Linked DNA regions of Homo sapiens: region 1 is linked to region 2. The links are contacts of gene promoters, found by promoter capture Hi-C in blood cells and fetal thymus (Javierre and others, 2016). All regions are on one chromosome and are shown on one strand. Each heading gives the region's core, a stretch centred on a gene start or on the middle of the fragment in contact. The rest is flanking DNA. Distances are from core to core; before and after follow the strand shown. Region 1 overlaps HNRNPH1 (heterogeneous nuclear ribonucleoprotein H1). Region 2 holds the start of RAB24 (RAB24, member RAS oncogene family).

The links. Contacts are between HindIII fragments. The CHiCAGO score rates a contact against its expected background, and 5 or more counts as called.
Region 1: a fragment that was not itself captured here is called in contact with the fragment with the promoter of RAB24 in region 2 in 1 of 17 cell types (non-activated CD4 T cells); the score reaches 5.9 in non-activated CD4 T cells.

What each region holds. Positions count from the first base shown.
Region 1 is chr5:179,614,488-179,620,858 of GRCh38, reverse strand. It overlaps HNRNPH1 (heterogeneous nuclear ribonucleoprotein H1), which reads left to right. Exons shown (of 14, transcript NM_001257293.2): 5 at 1,452-1,590; 6 at 2,536-2,714; 7 at 2,799-2,870; 8 at 2,927-3,060; 9 at 3,210-3,345; 10 at 3,749-3,808; 11 at 3,901-3,990; 12 at 4,641-4,733; 13 at 5,264-5,313; 14 at 5,900-6,371. The coding sequence ends at 5,313. The region is part of intron 4 of LOC128966623 (a long non-coding RNA gene); the gene reads right to left. Among named protein-coding and RNA genes, the nearest start is that of HNRNPH1, 6.0 kb to the left of the region's middle. The HindIII fragment of the contact is 1,751 bases long and covers 851-2,601 here.
Region 2 is chr5:177,298,478-177,304,968 of GRCh38, reverse strand. It overlaps RAB24 (RAB24, member RAS oncogene family), which reads left to right and starts at 1,250. Exons shown (of 8, transcript NM_001031677.4): 1 at 1,250-1,797; 2 at 1,892-1,960; 3 at 2,139-2,217; 4 at 2,325-2,392; 5 at 2,473-2,572; 6 at 2,791-2,841; 7 at 2,982-3,044; 8 at 3,162-3,771. The coding sequence starts at 1,681. The coding sequence ends at 3,226. It overlaps PRELID1 (PRELI domain containing 1), which reads right to left and starts at 1,170. Exons shown (of 5, transcript NM_013237.4): 1 at 892-1,170; 2 at 119-344. The coding sequence starts at 983. It overlaps NSD1 (nuclear receptor binding SET domain protein 1), which reads right to left. Exons shown (of 23, transcript NM_022455.5): 23 at 4,756-6,491. RefSeq lists enhancers at 40-109, 120-189, 340-399, 420-469, 580-679 and 4 more and silencers at 910-1,049, 1,160-1,239, 1,290-1,359, 4,389-4,582. The HindIII fragment of the contact is 8,255 bases long and covers 381-6,491 here.

The DNA.
Region 1 (6,371 bases), core at 477-2,976, 2.3 Mb before region 2:
TTTGGCTAGCTTATGGCAAGGTGATTTAATAGACGTTAAAGTTGAGTAGCTTAGGTATTTCAGTAGGTTGTAAATTGCCAATGAATTAATGTTTTCTTCCTAGAGACCTTCAAATAATTTAAGCCCATCTTAAAGGTGGAAATGAAGTACTTCCAAAATGTTAACTTTGCCTATATTTAGTATTATAGTTCAGAGTAGATCTTTCATTGAGGATTGCCCTCAACAGCTTAACTACTTTCCTCACATTGGTGTCCAGCTAAGTACCTCAAGTTAAAGGTAAGATCCCTTTACCAGCAGATCATCAGTGCGATGAATTAGGTTGTTGTAAATTATGGCAAGTGTCTGTGTTGCAAGAGACACGTATTTGGGTCATGTGACCAGAAGCATCTAATGGTCTAATTCTCTTTAATGCAAAAGTCGGTTTATGAAAGACTTGGTTTAACCTGTGTGGTATAAACTTACTGAAAATCAGATGTAGTGAGAGTAGTTTGAATGCTTGTAGTCTCAGTATCTGAAATAAGTGTTTTGAAATTGTTCCTGGGCCTAAAGTATTTGAATGTTTTTATGCTGAAGAGCTGATAAGATTGCATGTTTAACAATGTTAGATAAGATATCGTATATTTTAAGTATTAATATTTATGATGTGATACGCTGGAAGCAGGAAATCCTTTCATGGTTTAGTGTAGTATGTTAAAAATTGATATATGTATCGAGTCCTAATGTCAGAATTTTTAAAATCAAGTCTGTTTTGTTTTGACACTAAATTGGTGAGAATTGAATGCTGTCAACGTTAAATATGAACATAATTTCATATCTTCTAGGAAAGTGCTTTAAGTCCTTTTTGTAAGCTTGGGAATGTATCCACGGAAAGGATTTTTCATAGACGGAATTTCCAGAAGTGAATCATAACTACTGTTAGAGCATAAGCATGCATGATTGTGCTGTGTAGATCAGTTTTGTTGAAAGTTTAGATTGTTGTGTTTGTCAATTATAATTTAATGTTTCAGTTTTTATATGAAATGTTGTAAATGTATACCTTTTTAAAAACTTGAAGTTCCAATAACTTAAAGCATTGAAATATAAAATGAGGTAAAAGGTGTTTTGAATTTAGTAAAACTGTTATTTAATGCTTAAAACTTAATTGAATTGTATAATTCTCAACATTAAGTTGCATAGATATGTGTTCTTAAGTTGTTGAATTCTTAATGCATCCTGTGTTCAGCAAGTTTTTTTTAATATATACTGTACCATGGGTGTGTTAAGAATAGTTATACTTTATAATAATGGAACTTCATATTATTGCAATGCATATTTAAAGAGTACTTGTTGAAAGCATACCATTCACCTAAAGTTAAAAATTCTGGTTTATTTAAAGCTATAAGAAGAATCATTTCTGGGCTTGTGATGTTAATATTGCCCCCCTACTGGGGTTATTTGTCCTTGGGTTGAAGGGTTGGAAATCGTGCCAAATGGGATAACATTGCCGGTGGACTTCCAGGGGAGGAGTACGGGGGAGGCCTTCGTGCAGTTTGCTTCACAGGAAATAGCTGAAAAGGCTCTAAAGAAACACAAGGAAAGAATAGGGCACAGGTGGGGATGGATGGTTGGTTGGATATGTCACTTTTCTTATGGTAAACAATTAAATCCATATTCTCTCTGCTTAAAAGAAGAAATTAATGTTTTGTAGTCCTAGGTAATTGATGTTTTGCCATGATTTCCAAACTTGTGTCAGTCCCACGTTACACGCAAACTAAATTTTAGGTTTGAAATTTGTCCCTAGTTAATTGGTCTGCTTGACAATTTTGTGAGTCTTATTAACCCCAATCAATAGAGTTGAGAGACTATGGCTTTAAAAAATTAATGCAAACCTGGCTTTAGCTGTAATAACACCCACCTAGAATAAATTAATATTACCATAAGAAAATGTGATACTTTCTGATCTTGTTTTTAAAGTTGAAATGCAACAAACTTTTTCTTGCTGTATATAAATATTCTGCATAGTATTAATAAGCATAGCTTTCAAGAAATTGTCACAAAAGGTTTTATTCTCTTTGCTTGTGACTATTTTTCATTGAAGCATGCGCTTACCTATGCTGATTCTTACTAAAAGCATAGGCTGGGGTATTTATTGGCGAAAGGAAATGTGTAGTGTGGGCTGGACTGTTGGTGGAGGCTGGCTTTTTAGCCCACTTGCTATACATGCTGCCAATGGATTTAAGACTTGAAATGTTGAAAGTTGAGTGGAATTATTTCCCTCCTAAAACATTTATTTACAGTACTCCTCTCTACCCCTAAGGTTGGGCTCTGCCTCAGAGGAGTGAGTTTTTTTTTTTTTTCTATAAAGTTTACATTGTCTTACTATTTATTGAGTGAATTTCTGGTCATTGCCTATGCAAATATAAGAAATCTGGCTTTAAATATTAGTCAGTTTCATGGCTATGACTAGATTGTTTTCTTGTATAACTAAATACCTGTATAAAATGAACTAATGTTTTCTCTCCCCTCCCTACCCCTTCCTTATGAACAATGCTTTAGGTATATTGAAATCTTTAAGAGCAGTAGAGCTGAAGTTAGAACTCATTATGATCCACCACGAAAGCTTATGGCCATGCAGCGGCCAGGTCCTTATGACAGACCTGGGGCTGGTAGAGGGTATAACAGCATTGGCAGAGGAGCTGGCTTTGAGAGGATGAGGCGTGGTGCTTATGGTGGAGGTACGTGAGGATTCGTAAGGTTCGGCAAGTCGTCTGTTCCTTTGTCTAGGTGTTTTATTTGATTGATTGTACTTTGTCTTTCAGGCTATGGAGGCTATGATGATTACAATGGCTATAATGATGGCTATGGATTTGGGTCAGATAGATTTGGAAGAGGTAAGGTAAGAATTGAATTTCTCAGTTGAAGGATGCTTACACTCTTGTCCATCTAGACCTCAATTACTGTTTTTCAGGAATGTCTGATCACAGATACGGGGATGGTGGCTCTACTTTCCAGAGCACAACAGGACACTGTGTACACATGCGGGGATTACCTTACAGAGCTACTGAGAATGACATTTATAATGTAAGTGTGAGATGAACTCACAAGTCAATATTTCAGTATGGCAGTAAGTCAGCCTTATTCTATAAATGTGAGCACTATGTTAGAAATTTTAGGTTTTTTTTGTAACGTTAGAAAGTTGGTTGAATTCTTTGAAATGCCTTGTGTTGTAGTTTTTTTCACCGCTCAACCCTGTGAGAGTACACATTGAAATTGGTCCTGATGGCAGAGTAACTGGTGAAGCAGATGTCGAGTTCGCAACTCATGAAGATGCTGTGGCAGCTATGTCAAAAGACAAAGCAAATATGCGTAAGTGTGATTGAGCATTTGTGGGCTCTTAACAGGTGATTGTGTGACTAACATTTACAATAGAGAAATGGAAAAATAAGGATATATGAGAAGTTTCCTCTCCAGTAATAGATTAATTCTTGGGGGATGCGGGGGCAGTGTGTTGAAGGTTTGGGTTTTAAAAATTAGTATAACGGATTTGTGATATGCACATCTTGAAGTGTATATCCTTAATTGACAATACAGATGAATATGTAAAGGCTAGATTTTGGAGTTAAAGTAGATCACCTAAGAGAAGTAGCTAGAATTTCTTTGCCAAAGTATTTGAAGTTCACAGATCTGCTTGTTTAAAAACTTTATAAAAGTGCTTATTCTGTTTTGTTTCACCAACAAACATTTTCAAACTTTTTTTTTCTCATTTCAGAACACAGATATGTAGAACTCTTCTTGAATTCTACAGCAGGAGCAAGCGGTGGTGCTTACGGTAGCCAAATGCTAGGAGGCATGGGTTTGTGTAAATATCACTTTAGTGTCTTTTTTTTAAGCTAACCTTGTATGCCTTTTCTCTCATTTCAGAACACAGATATGTAGAACTCTTCTTGAATTCTACAGCAGGAGCAAGCGGTGGTGCTTATGGTAGCCAAATGATGGGAGGCATGGGCTTGTGTAAATATCGTTAGTTTTTTTAAAAACCAAAACGTTTATATCTGTATAAGTCAATTATAAGTTAAGTTAATCTATTTATTTAATAAGTTTAGCATAAGAAACTTAGGCAAAGCAGTTTCTTGATATTTGAGTTTTGTATCTGGCTTACTTAAATCCTTGTGAGTTATGAAGTTCCTTAGGATAGATAATTCAAATTAGGTTTAAGTAGTCTTGGGGGAGGGGACTACGGAGTGAAACTACTTAAATTTTCTAAGTATAAAGTTTAAATCAATAGCAAAACAGGATTAAGATAAATGTGGGCATAATTAGGTGTATTGACATGCCTTTGATGTATCAAACTGAGGGGGAACCCACTAAATCCAGTCAAGCAGTTTCATAAGATCTTCACAAAATGCCTCTACTTACGGAATCATGTTGATTTTAGTCCTGCTGATGTGTGTACCGTTAGCACTTTGGTTTATCAATATTTGACTGGCTCAAATGATGGATAGAAGGGTGGCCTGGTTATAGACAGTAGGCAGAAGGAGGCAGAGGGTTACAGTAATGTAAGATCAAGACTGGAAAATGATAGCTATAGAATTACAAGCCCGGTACCACCAGGTACCACATCACATAAGAAAAAAGGTTCTAATGTTTTCTTAACTTAACAGCAAACCAGTCCAGCTACGGGGGCCCAGCCAGCCAGCAGCTGAGTGGGGGTTACGGAGGCGGCTACGGTGGCCAGAGCAGCATGAGTGGATACGGTAAAGCCTGTTTGTTACTGTACTTAGAGTAAGTTATGGTAAAGCCTGTTCATTACTGTACTTAGAGTAAGTTATGGTAAAGCCTGTTACTGTACTTAGAGTAAGTCGCAGGCAGGTGCCTTTAGTTGGGAAGATGCAGGCTCCTTTCGGTGAAATTGGGTTATGAAATGTATGCTTTCAATCCAAATGTAACTGTTTTTACTAGCTAATTTTCAGAAACAATCATTGGGAGGGGGAAGTGTTCTTTGAATTAAGAACTAGTCATTGCAGCTTTGGAATACTGTCGAGCCAGAAAATATCTGCCTCCATGTATTAAAACATTAAATAAAGTTGTTCACTTTTTTGTCTTTTGGTTAGCATTAAGTCAGTTTTAGACAGAGGGAGAATTTGAAATAGTAGAATGGTGGTTGGGTTCAGGATCGTATTTATTAGTCAGTTAACCTAGGATTGGTTTTATTTATTTTTTTTCAATTGGTCTAAAGAATGGTGATTTTGGTATTATAGTCTTACCCTACAAAATCCTTTTGCAGACCAAGTTTTACAGGAAAACTCCAGTGATTTTCAATCAAACATTGCATAGGTAAATATTTTCTCAAAAAATATAAATTCCCAATAGCAAATACTGATATGTTGTAATAATGCTTTCTATAGCAGTCAATGGCTCTGACTTAACTCCATGGAGGCTGCCATTTGGGCACAGTGAGTTGCCTTTAGTCCAGCTTGGTTGTCTCACTTCCTGCCCACCATGAATAGGAAAAGCAAGAGACTTCCCCTGTGCTCCCTTTTCTCAAATGCCATTCGAGGGACACATTGTGAATGTTTATGTTAAATTTTTTTTAAAAATGCCTTGTTTAGCTTTAAAAATACGAAGTAATTTTGCAATTTTTGAAAAACACTAGTTTTCCTTTAAACTTAATTTTTCATGTTGATCCTGAAGAATCCGTTAAAATGGTAGCACAAGAGTCTGGCAAGTTGGTACTGCAGAGAAAAGGGGTTAATTGAGGCTTGTTTGGAGTCGGGATTCCCCTTTCCCAAACATGCGTCTCGCCACTTGGACAGCAGCCATTTGTACTCGTATACTTTTTAAACTTTTTCTTGGAATACTATATTTTATTTGACTGGTAGTCTGATATTACTCCTAACTTGTCAAATTGATCTCTTTGCAGGTAACCAAGGAGCAGTGAACAGCAGCTACTACAGTAGTGGAAGCCGTGCATCTATGGGCGTGAACGGAATGGGAGGGTTGTCTAGCATGTCCAGTATGAGTGGTGGATGGGGAATGTAATTGATCGATCCTGATCACTGACTCTTGGTCAACCTTTTTTTTTTTTTTTTTTTTTTCTTTAAGAAAACTTCAGTTTAACAGTTTCTGCAATACAAGCTTGTGATTTATGCTTACTCTAAGTGGAAATCAGGATTGTTATGAAGACTTAAGGCCCAGTATTTTTGAATACAATACTCATCTAGGATGTAACAGTGAAGCTGAGTAAACTATAACTGTTAAACTTAAGTTCCAGCTTTTCTCAAGTTAGTTATAGGATGTACTTAAGCAGTAAGCGTATTTAGGTAAAAGCAGTTGAATTATGTTAAATGTTGCCCTTTGCCACGTTAAATTGAACACTGTTTTGGATGCATGTT
Region 2 (6,491 bases), core at 1-2,500:
CCTGCCTCCGGCCACAAAAGCTGCCTTATGGCTCTCTAGCCACATGTATCTGAGGAGCTCTCTATCTCGGGGGGAGGGGAGAGGGGGAGGTGCAGAATCACAACAGGAGGTGTCTCACCATCAGCCGGGCGTGGTTGATGTTCCAGGTGAAGGTAGTCATGGTCTGATTCTGTGGGTCCACAATAGAGTCCTCCAGGACGTACACCGAGTGAGCAACATTGGCAGGAAATAGTCGCTCGGCCCAGCGTGGCATCCTGTTGGTCTTGGTCAGGAGTCGCCGGGACAGCAGTTTCTGGTCAGGGGTCACCTCCCGGTGTACTATGTCTTCCGTCAAGACATGTTTGCTGCAGGTGTCAGGGTGAAGGTGACCCTCAGAAGCTTGCCCCTAAGAGACTGCCCGAGGGGATTCCCATTTGGAGGCTCCGGGCCTAGAGAGGCCACGCCTTCCCGTAACCTTGCAGGGTGGTATGTGCTATGGTTCAAACCAGAGTTAAGGGCCCATCCCAGGGCAAATTCCCACTCCCGCCATCTGACTGACCTGGATTCCTGCCTTCTAGCAGGAATGGACCTCATGATTTATTGCACCCCAGGAAAGCGCCACGGGCAGAGAAATAGGATTTCCAACTCCAAGATCCCTCCCAACTCCCATACTGCCGCCTCTTCTTGTCTCACCACACTGAGAAAAGAATCTTACACTAAGGTCTCAAGTAAACCACCACCCAGGCCCAACCTCCCTTCAGGACCTTGCAGGCCTGGCCTGGCCGCTTCCCCGATAAGGTCTACCTAGGATTCGATATCGAGTCCTTCCTGGTCCCAGTACTTGGGGGTTACCCATAATTCGATCTCCAGATAGCGAGATGGCGCGGTTTTGCTCTTCCAAATACCACGTACCTATAGGGATTCGGGTACCGCTGCCAGAAGGCGGCGAACACTTGGTCCCAGGAACTCCGGAGCACGCTCTGGCCCAGGAAATACTTCACCATCGTCCCGGCCGAAGCGGGCTCAGCACCCGCGCAGCATCAGGGGTGCGGAGCCTGGGAGGCACGCGAGGGCCGGGCCGGGCCGGGGCTCGGCGCACACCCGCCGCCAGGCTCGTAGCTCAGTCACCACCGCACCGCGCCCAAGCAGCTGCCGCCGCCGCCGCCGCCGCCATGAGTTGTCCGGCCGCGCGCCACTTCCGGCGCAGCCACACAGTAGCCACCGCTTCCGGCGCCCGCGCCACGTGACCTTGCGGCCCCGCCCCCTCGCCCTCTAGCCCCCTCCCGCGGGAGTCGCGGCGCTGCGGGTAGGAGCCGGGTTGCGGGAGACCCCAGGTTCGGTTGGGATTCCCAGCCAGAACGGAGCTTAAGCCGGGCAGGCGAGCGAATGACGGAGTAGCGAGCTGCACGGCGGCGTGCTGCGCTGTTGAGGACGCTGTCCCGCGCGCTCCCAGGCCGCCCCGAGGCTTGGGGTCTTCGAAGGATAATCGGCGCCCGGGGCCGAACAGCGGGGGCACACGGGGCGCTGCCGAAGTGCAAGGCCACGGCCAGAGCTCGAGCCCGACGCGCTGTCTGGAGTCGTAGGTTGGCGCCGTTTGGGGTCGGGGTCTGAGGCTTGGGCGCTGCCTGGGCCGAGCGGAGATCGGGGTTTGCCTCCCGTCCCCGCTCAGGACCCTGACGTGGCTGAAGCGGCCCCGGGAGCATGAGCGGGCAGCGCGTGGACGTCAAGGTGGTGATGCTGGGCAAGGAGTACGTGGGCAAGACTAGCCTGGTGGAGCGCTACGTGCACGACCGCTTTCTGGTGGGGCCTTATCAGAACGTGAGTGCATCCGGAGGGGCCAGGCACGGTGGGCGGGGGAGTGGGGGGCCGGTAATCTGCACCTATGGCCCCGATCTCTTCCCTCTCGTTGCAGACCATCGGGGCCGCCTTCGTGGCCAAGGTGATGTCGGTCGGAGACCGGACTGTGACATTAGGTATTTGGGTAAGTCCCCCGGCCATCTATTCTTGGGAGACTCATTCCTGAGGAGGTGTAGGTCCTGCCTATTACTGGTTGATTTGTGGCCTCACAGACCCATTTCTCATAGACCCGTTTCCTTATCTGGAAAATAGCGGGGTCTGGAGAACGTGGCCTTAAGTTTGACTCAGGCCTTACTCTTTAGGACACAGCAGGCTCTGAGCGCTATGAGGCCATGAGTAGAATCTACTATCGGGGTGCCAAGGCTGCCATCGTCTGCTATGGTAAGGGGGGGGGGGGTTTGGGCTGTCTCACAAGAAAAGATGGGTGCCAGGCTAGCCAGAGAACAGCCCTTGACCACTTGGTTGTCTCCTGCATGCCGCACACCAAGACCTCACAGACAGCAGCAGCTTTGAGCGAGCAAAGTTCTGGGTGAAGGAACTGCGCAGCCTAGAGGAGGTAGGTGAACAGACCTCACTAGAACACTAGGGGCTGGGGTTTTGTTGGCCTGTGGAGGTGACCCTTGTCTTCTGCCTCAGGGCTGCCAAATCTACTTATGTGGCACCAAGAGTGACCTGCTGGAAGAAGACCGGAGGCGTCGACGTGTGGACTTCCACGACGTCCAGGACTATGCAGACAGTAGCTGCTCCTCAGCCCTTTGGGGGGTGGGGGTGTGTGGCTGTCTGGGTGGATCAAAGAAAATAGGGACTGCCTTGGCTGCCAGGGCAAGGTGCTCTAGGAGGTCTTCCTGGCCTCCTTGAACTGTGGGGTCCAGGAGACTCCCTGAACTGCTAGCCCTCCCTTTTGTCTGTTTATCTAATTCTCAGGTATGAGGCTTTAGTCACTTCTCTTTACAGATATCAAAGCTCAGCTCTTTGAAACATCCAGCAAGACAGGCCAGAGTGTGGGTGAGTGCTGTGCTGGAGCCTCACAGCAGGAACATGCAGGGGCACCAGAGGAAGCTGAATAGGGCACAGAGGGCTGGGTCACTGGGAGATCCCAGGGCTACTGGCATTGGGCCCTCGCTGATCATCATTTTTCCTGCCAGACGAGCTCTTCCAGAAAGTGGCAGAGGATTACGTCAGTGTGGCTGCCTTCCAGGTGATGACAGGTGTGTGCTTCCCCAGCCTTTATGGAGACTTACTCTAGGCCCACAGCATCTAGCCCCTTTCCTGAGTTACCTGATCCCAACAGAATGGTGCTGAGCTGCCACCTCTCTTTTTGACAGAGGACAAGGGCGTGGATCTGGGCCAGAAGCCAAACCCCTACTTCTACAGCTGTTGTCATCACTGAGTCAGCACTCACCTGGCCTGGGGGAATTAAAGGAATTCCCCGTAAGGGCTGGACCCAGCTCCTTTCTGGGCTTGGGTAGTCAAATGTCTGAGCTACCCCAGGTCCTCATGTCAGCAGAGTGGCGCCTGCCTGTGCTGGCCCATGGAACGGAGACAGCATTGGGCTGACTGTGGGCATGAGGAGGGATAAGGCTGATTTGGACCCCAGGCTTCTGCCCTGGACAGCACTTGTGTCTGCAGATTATTTAAGTGGCTTTTGATCTGTAAATAAAATCAGTGCACTGTGCATCACACCCAGCCCCTTTCCCTGCTGTGTGGATTAGGTGTCAAGACACCTAGTTCTTCCTGGGGCCACCCGGCTGGCCTCACTGCTTATATTAAGGCTCCTCCCAACTCTCATTTTCCTTTGGAAAACAAGACTTTTTTCCCCATGGTTACCGCTGAGATACTGGGGCTGTAGTAGTATAAAAGCTCACAGTTCCTTCTGAGTGCTGAAAAGAGTGCATGAGTTGCTTCGAAATAAAAGGGTCAAGCATTCCTACCTGAGACAGGTTGGTCTGACTAGCTCTACTGCATCTGTCATGTTTGGGCCCCTATGTCAGACCTGTGACTCAGGTCCTGAGCTTCCCAGTGACATCCTACAATGTGGTTTAATGGTAGGAAAGTCCTAAGTTCTGTAAGCCAGAAAGGTCTAATGGATCCAGATTTGGTTCCAATTCAGCTGCTAATTTAGAAAAGGGACTTAAATCCTCATCTTGAGTTTCTCATCTGTAAAATAAGGTGACTACTATGCAGCCCAAGGATTGTGAAGAAAGTGAAGAGTAACTCTAGTACTAAATGTTTTTCCCAATCTTCCCAAGCACTTTTTGCTGAAAGGGCAGGAAGTTCAGGACTAGGTCACAAAGGGAAGCAAACTCCCAAGTTTTCCCCAAAGAAGATCCAGATATTTCTGAGGAATCAGGTGTTAACTGTAAACAGGGCTGACACTTGCTGCTCAACCAGAAGGAAATTTATTGCAGCCCTTTCTGGTATGGAGGGTGTGGCCCCAGGCCAGGGGCTTTCCCTTAGTTTTATCCTTTGCCTCTGCTTTCCTGCCTTTATTTAGGCCTGGGCTGAGTCCTCTGCAGTGGCCAACACCTGCCTTGGAAAAATGTACAACTTAGCCAACATGGTCAGACTCACACTCAGAGAGTGCTTTGGTTCCACTTCCTTTTTAAAAACCAATTCCTCAAACTGCCCTTCCTTCATGAGTGATGGGGGCTTCCTGTGGAGGGAGACTGAAACTGAAACCAGCCACTCCCAACAGAGGGAGAAAGAGGCTTGGGCAGCCCTGTGGCTGCTGAGAGGAAACACACTATTCCCATGACGTGCTTGGAGGAAGGGCTTAGCTTCACAGTATCCCTGCGCCCCCCGCCCCCCACCTCGTACTATCTCTGGGGCTGGCTTCTGCTCTCACCCCAAACAATCCTCCCTCCTGTTAGACTACAACTCCCCACAGCCAATAAAACAAAACACAGGGCAAGGGCCATATATGAGTAAAGTTAAACTTTACTTTACAGTAAATTTTTTTTCTATATACAAAGAATTACAGTACATGTTTATGGGGACTCCTAACACAGGGCTCCCCTCTTTTTCACTAGGAGTTTCACTTACAGCTGACAATCTATGGGGGCGGGGGGGGGGGGGCGCGGCAAAAAAGCAATGATGGACCTTGGCTGATCCCCCCGACCCCTTTCTTAACAATATAGGTAGATGTCTATCGTCAGCTTGCCTCTTTGCCAAGACCTAGGAGGCGGCTCTGCCATGAGCTGCTGTGTGCTGCCCTCCCCACCTTCAGCACACTCATCTACACACACACAGGTAGCACCCACCTCGATGAGACCGCCTTGCTCTGGCCTGCCCCAACCCTGGAAGTTGAAAACATAGAACCATTTATTTCTGCTTCTACTCTCTGTGCCCATGTCTTGTCCACGAAACTTTGCTGAACTTCCAGGACCTTACACCTGAAGCCCCACAATAACCTGATGTTTTGAAAGCCATGGGAAAGCAGCTCTAGAGAAGGAACCACATAAGCAGAAACAGCGCATGTTAAACTCGAAACACTTCTTCCGAGGTTGTGGATTTCTAGTTTAATTCTTTCCACTTCCTTAGAAAATACTACCCTTAATCTTCATAAGCAGTAGAGGGGCTTCCATGAGTGGAAGAGGTAGAGAGGGGCAGAAGGGAGCTGAGGAAGACCCAACAACCAGAGCTCTCTAACAACCTGCTCCAGGCAGCGTGGACGGAGGCTATGGACAAGGTGGCCCCAGCCCTGAGAAACTCAATGGCCACCTTCACCTGGATATAGGATCTCTTCCACCTCTGGATTGCACTGGGCCACTCCAGGGTTGGGTGCAGGCTTCACTGAGGATCTTCCTTCTCCCCACTTTTAACAAAGCCTCAAACTTTTCTACATAAAATCTCCTCCCAAACAGGAACCCGGGTTTCTTGAGCTGCCAGTCCCTCAACCCTTGGCAGTGCTTATTTATACCGTGAAATTAGCACCATCATTACATTTTATTGTGTGTGTGTACAAAACAATGATCTATTCTTATTTCAATTTACACTATAGCAGCCTCTGGCCCTGTTGCACTGGCCCTAGGAAGCTCAGCTGAGAACTAACTGGCCATAGCCAATGACAGGCTCCCACAGCAACTACCAAGCAGTGACTTGGAATGTCTACACATGGAACTGCTCAAATGAAACTCAGCAAGAAAGGGGCTGGAGGCAGCTCCTTCTCTGCCATGATCTGAGAGAGGTTAGGACACTGGGCTCCTCTAACCTGGCTGATAAACCCCAAGAGGATGACAGTATCATTTAAAAAACCTTAGTAAAATCCACCTTATAGGGACTAAGGGTAAAACCTATCCAAGTTTCATGCTGTCCTCATTACTCCCTATGGGGGAATCTGTCAGGACTAAACTTTCTGCCATTCTGTTCTCATGAGGCAACATTAGAATTACAACCTGGGAGTCCGGCTCCAGTGAGCAGACAGTGCCGAGCCTGGGAAGGGATCAACAGGGTGTTTCATGCCCTGACCATAGTGTGGGGTGAAGGATGTAAAGAATAAAATAACTATTTTCATCAATGCTAAAGATTTGGTTCAGAAGAGGGTCAACACAGTGATTTAAGTCATCTCAAACTCAGTAACAGGGTAAAGCAGACATTTAAAAATGAGGATGTTTCTGTATCAATGACAGCTATTTTGCTATTAGACTGGGTTGGCT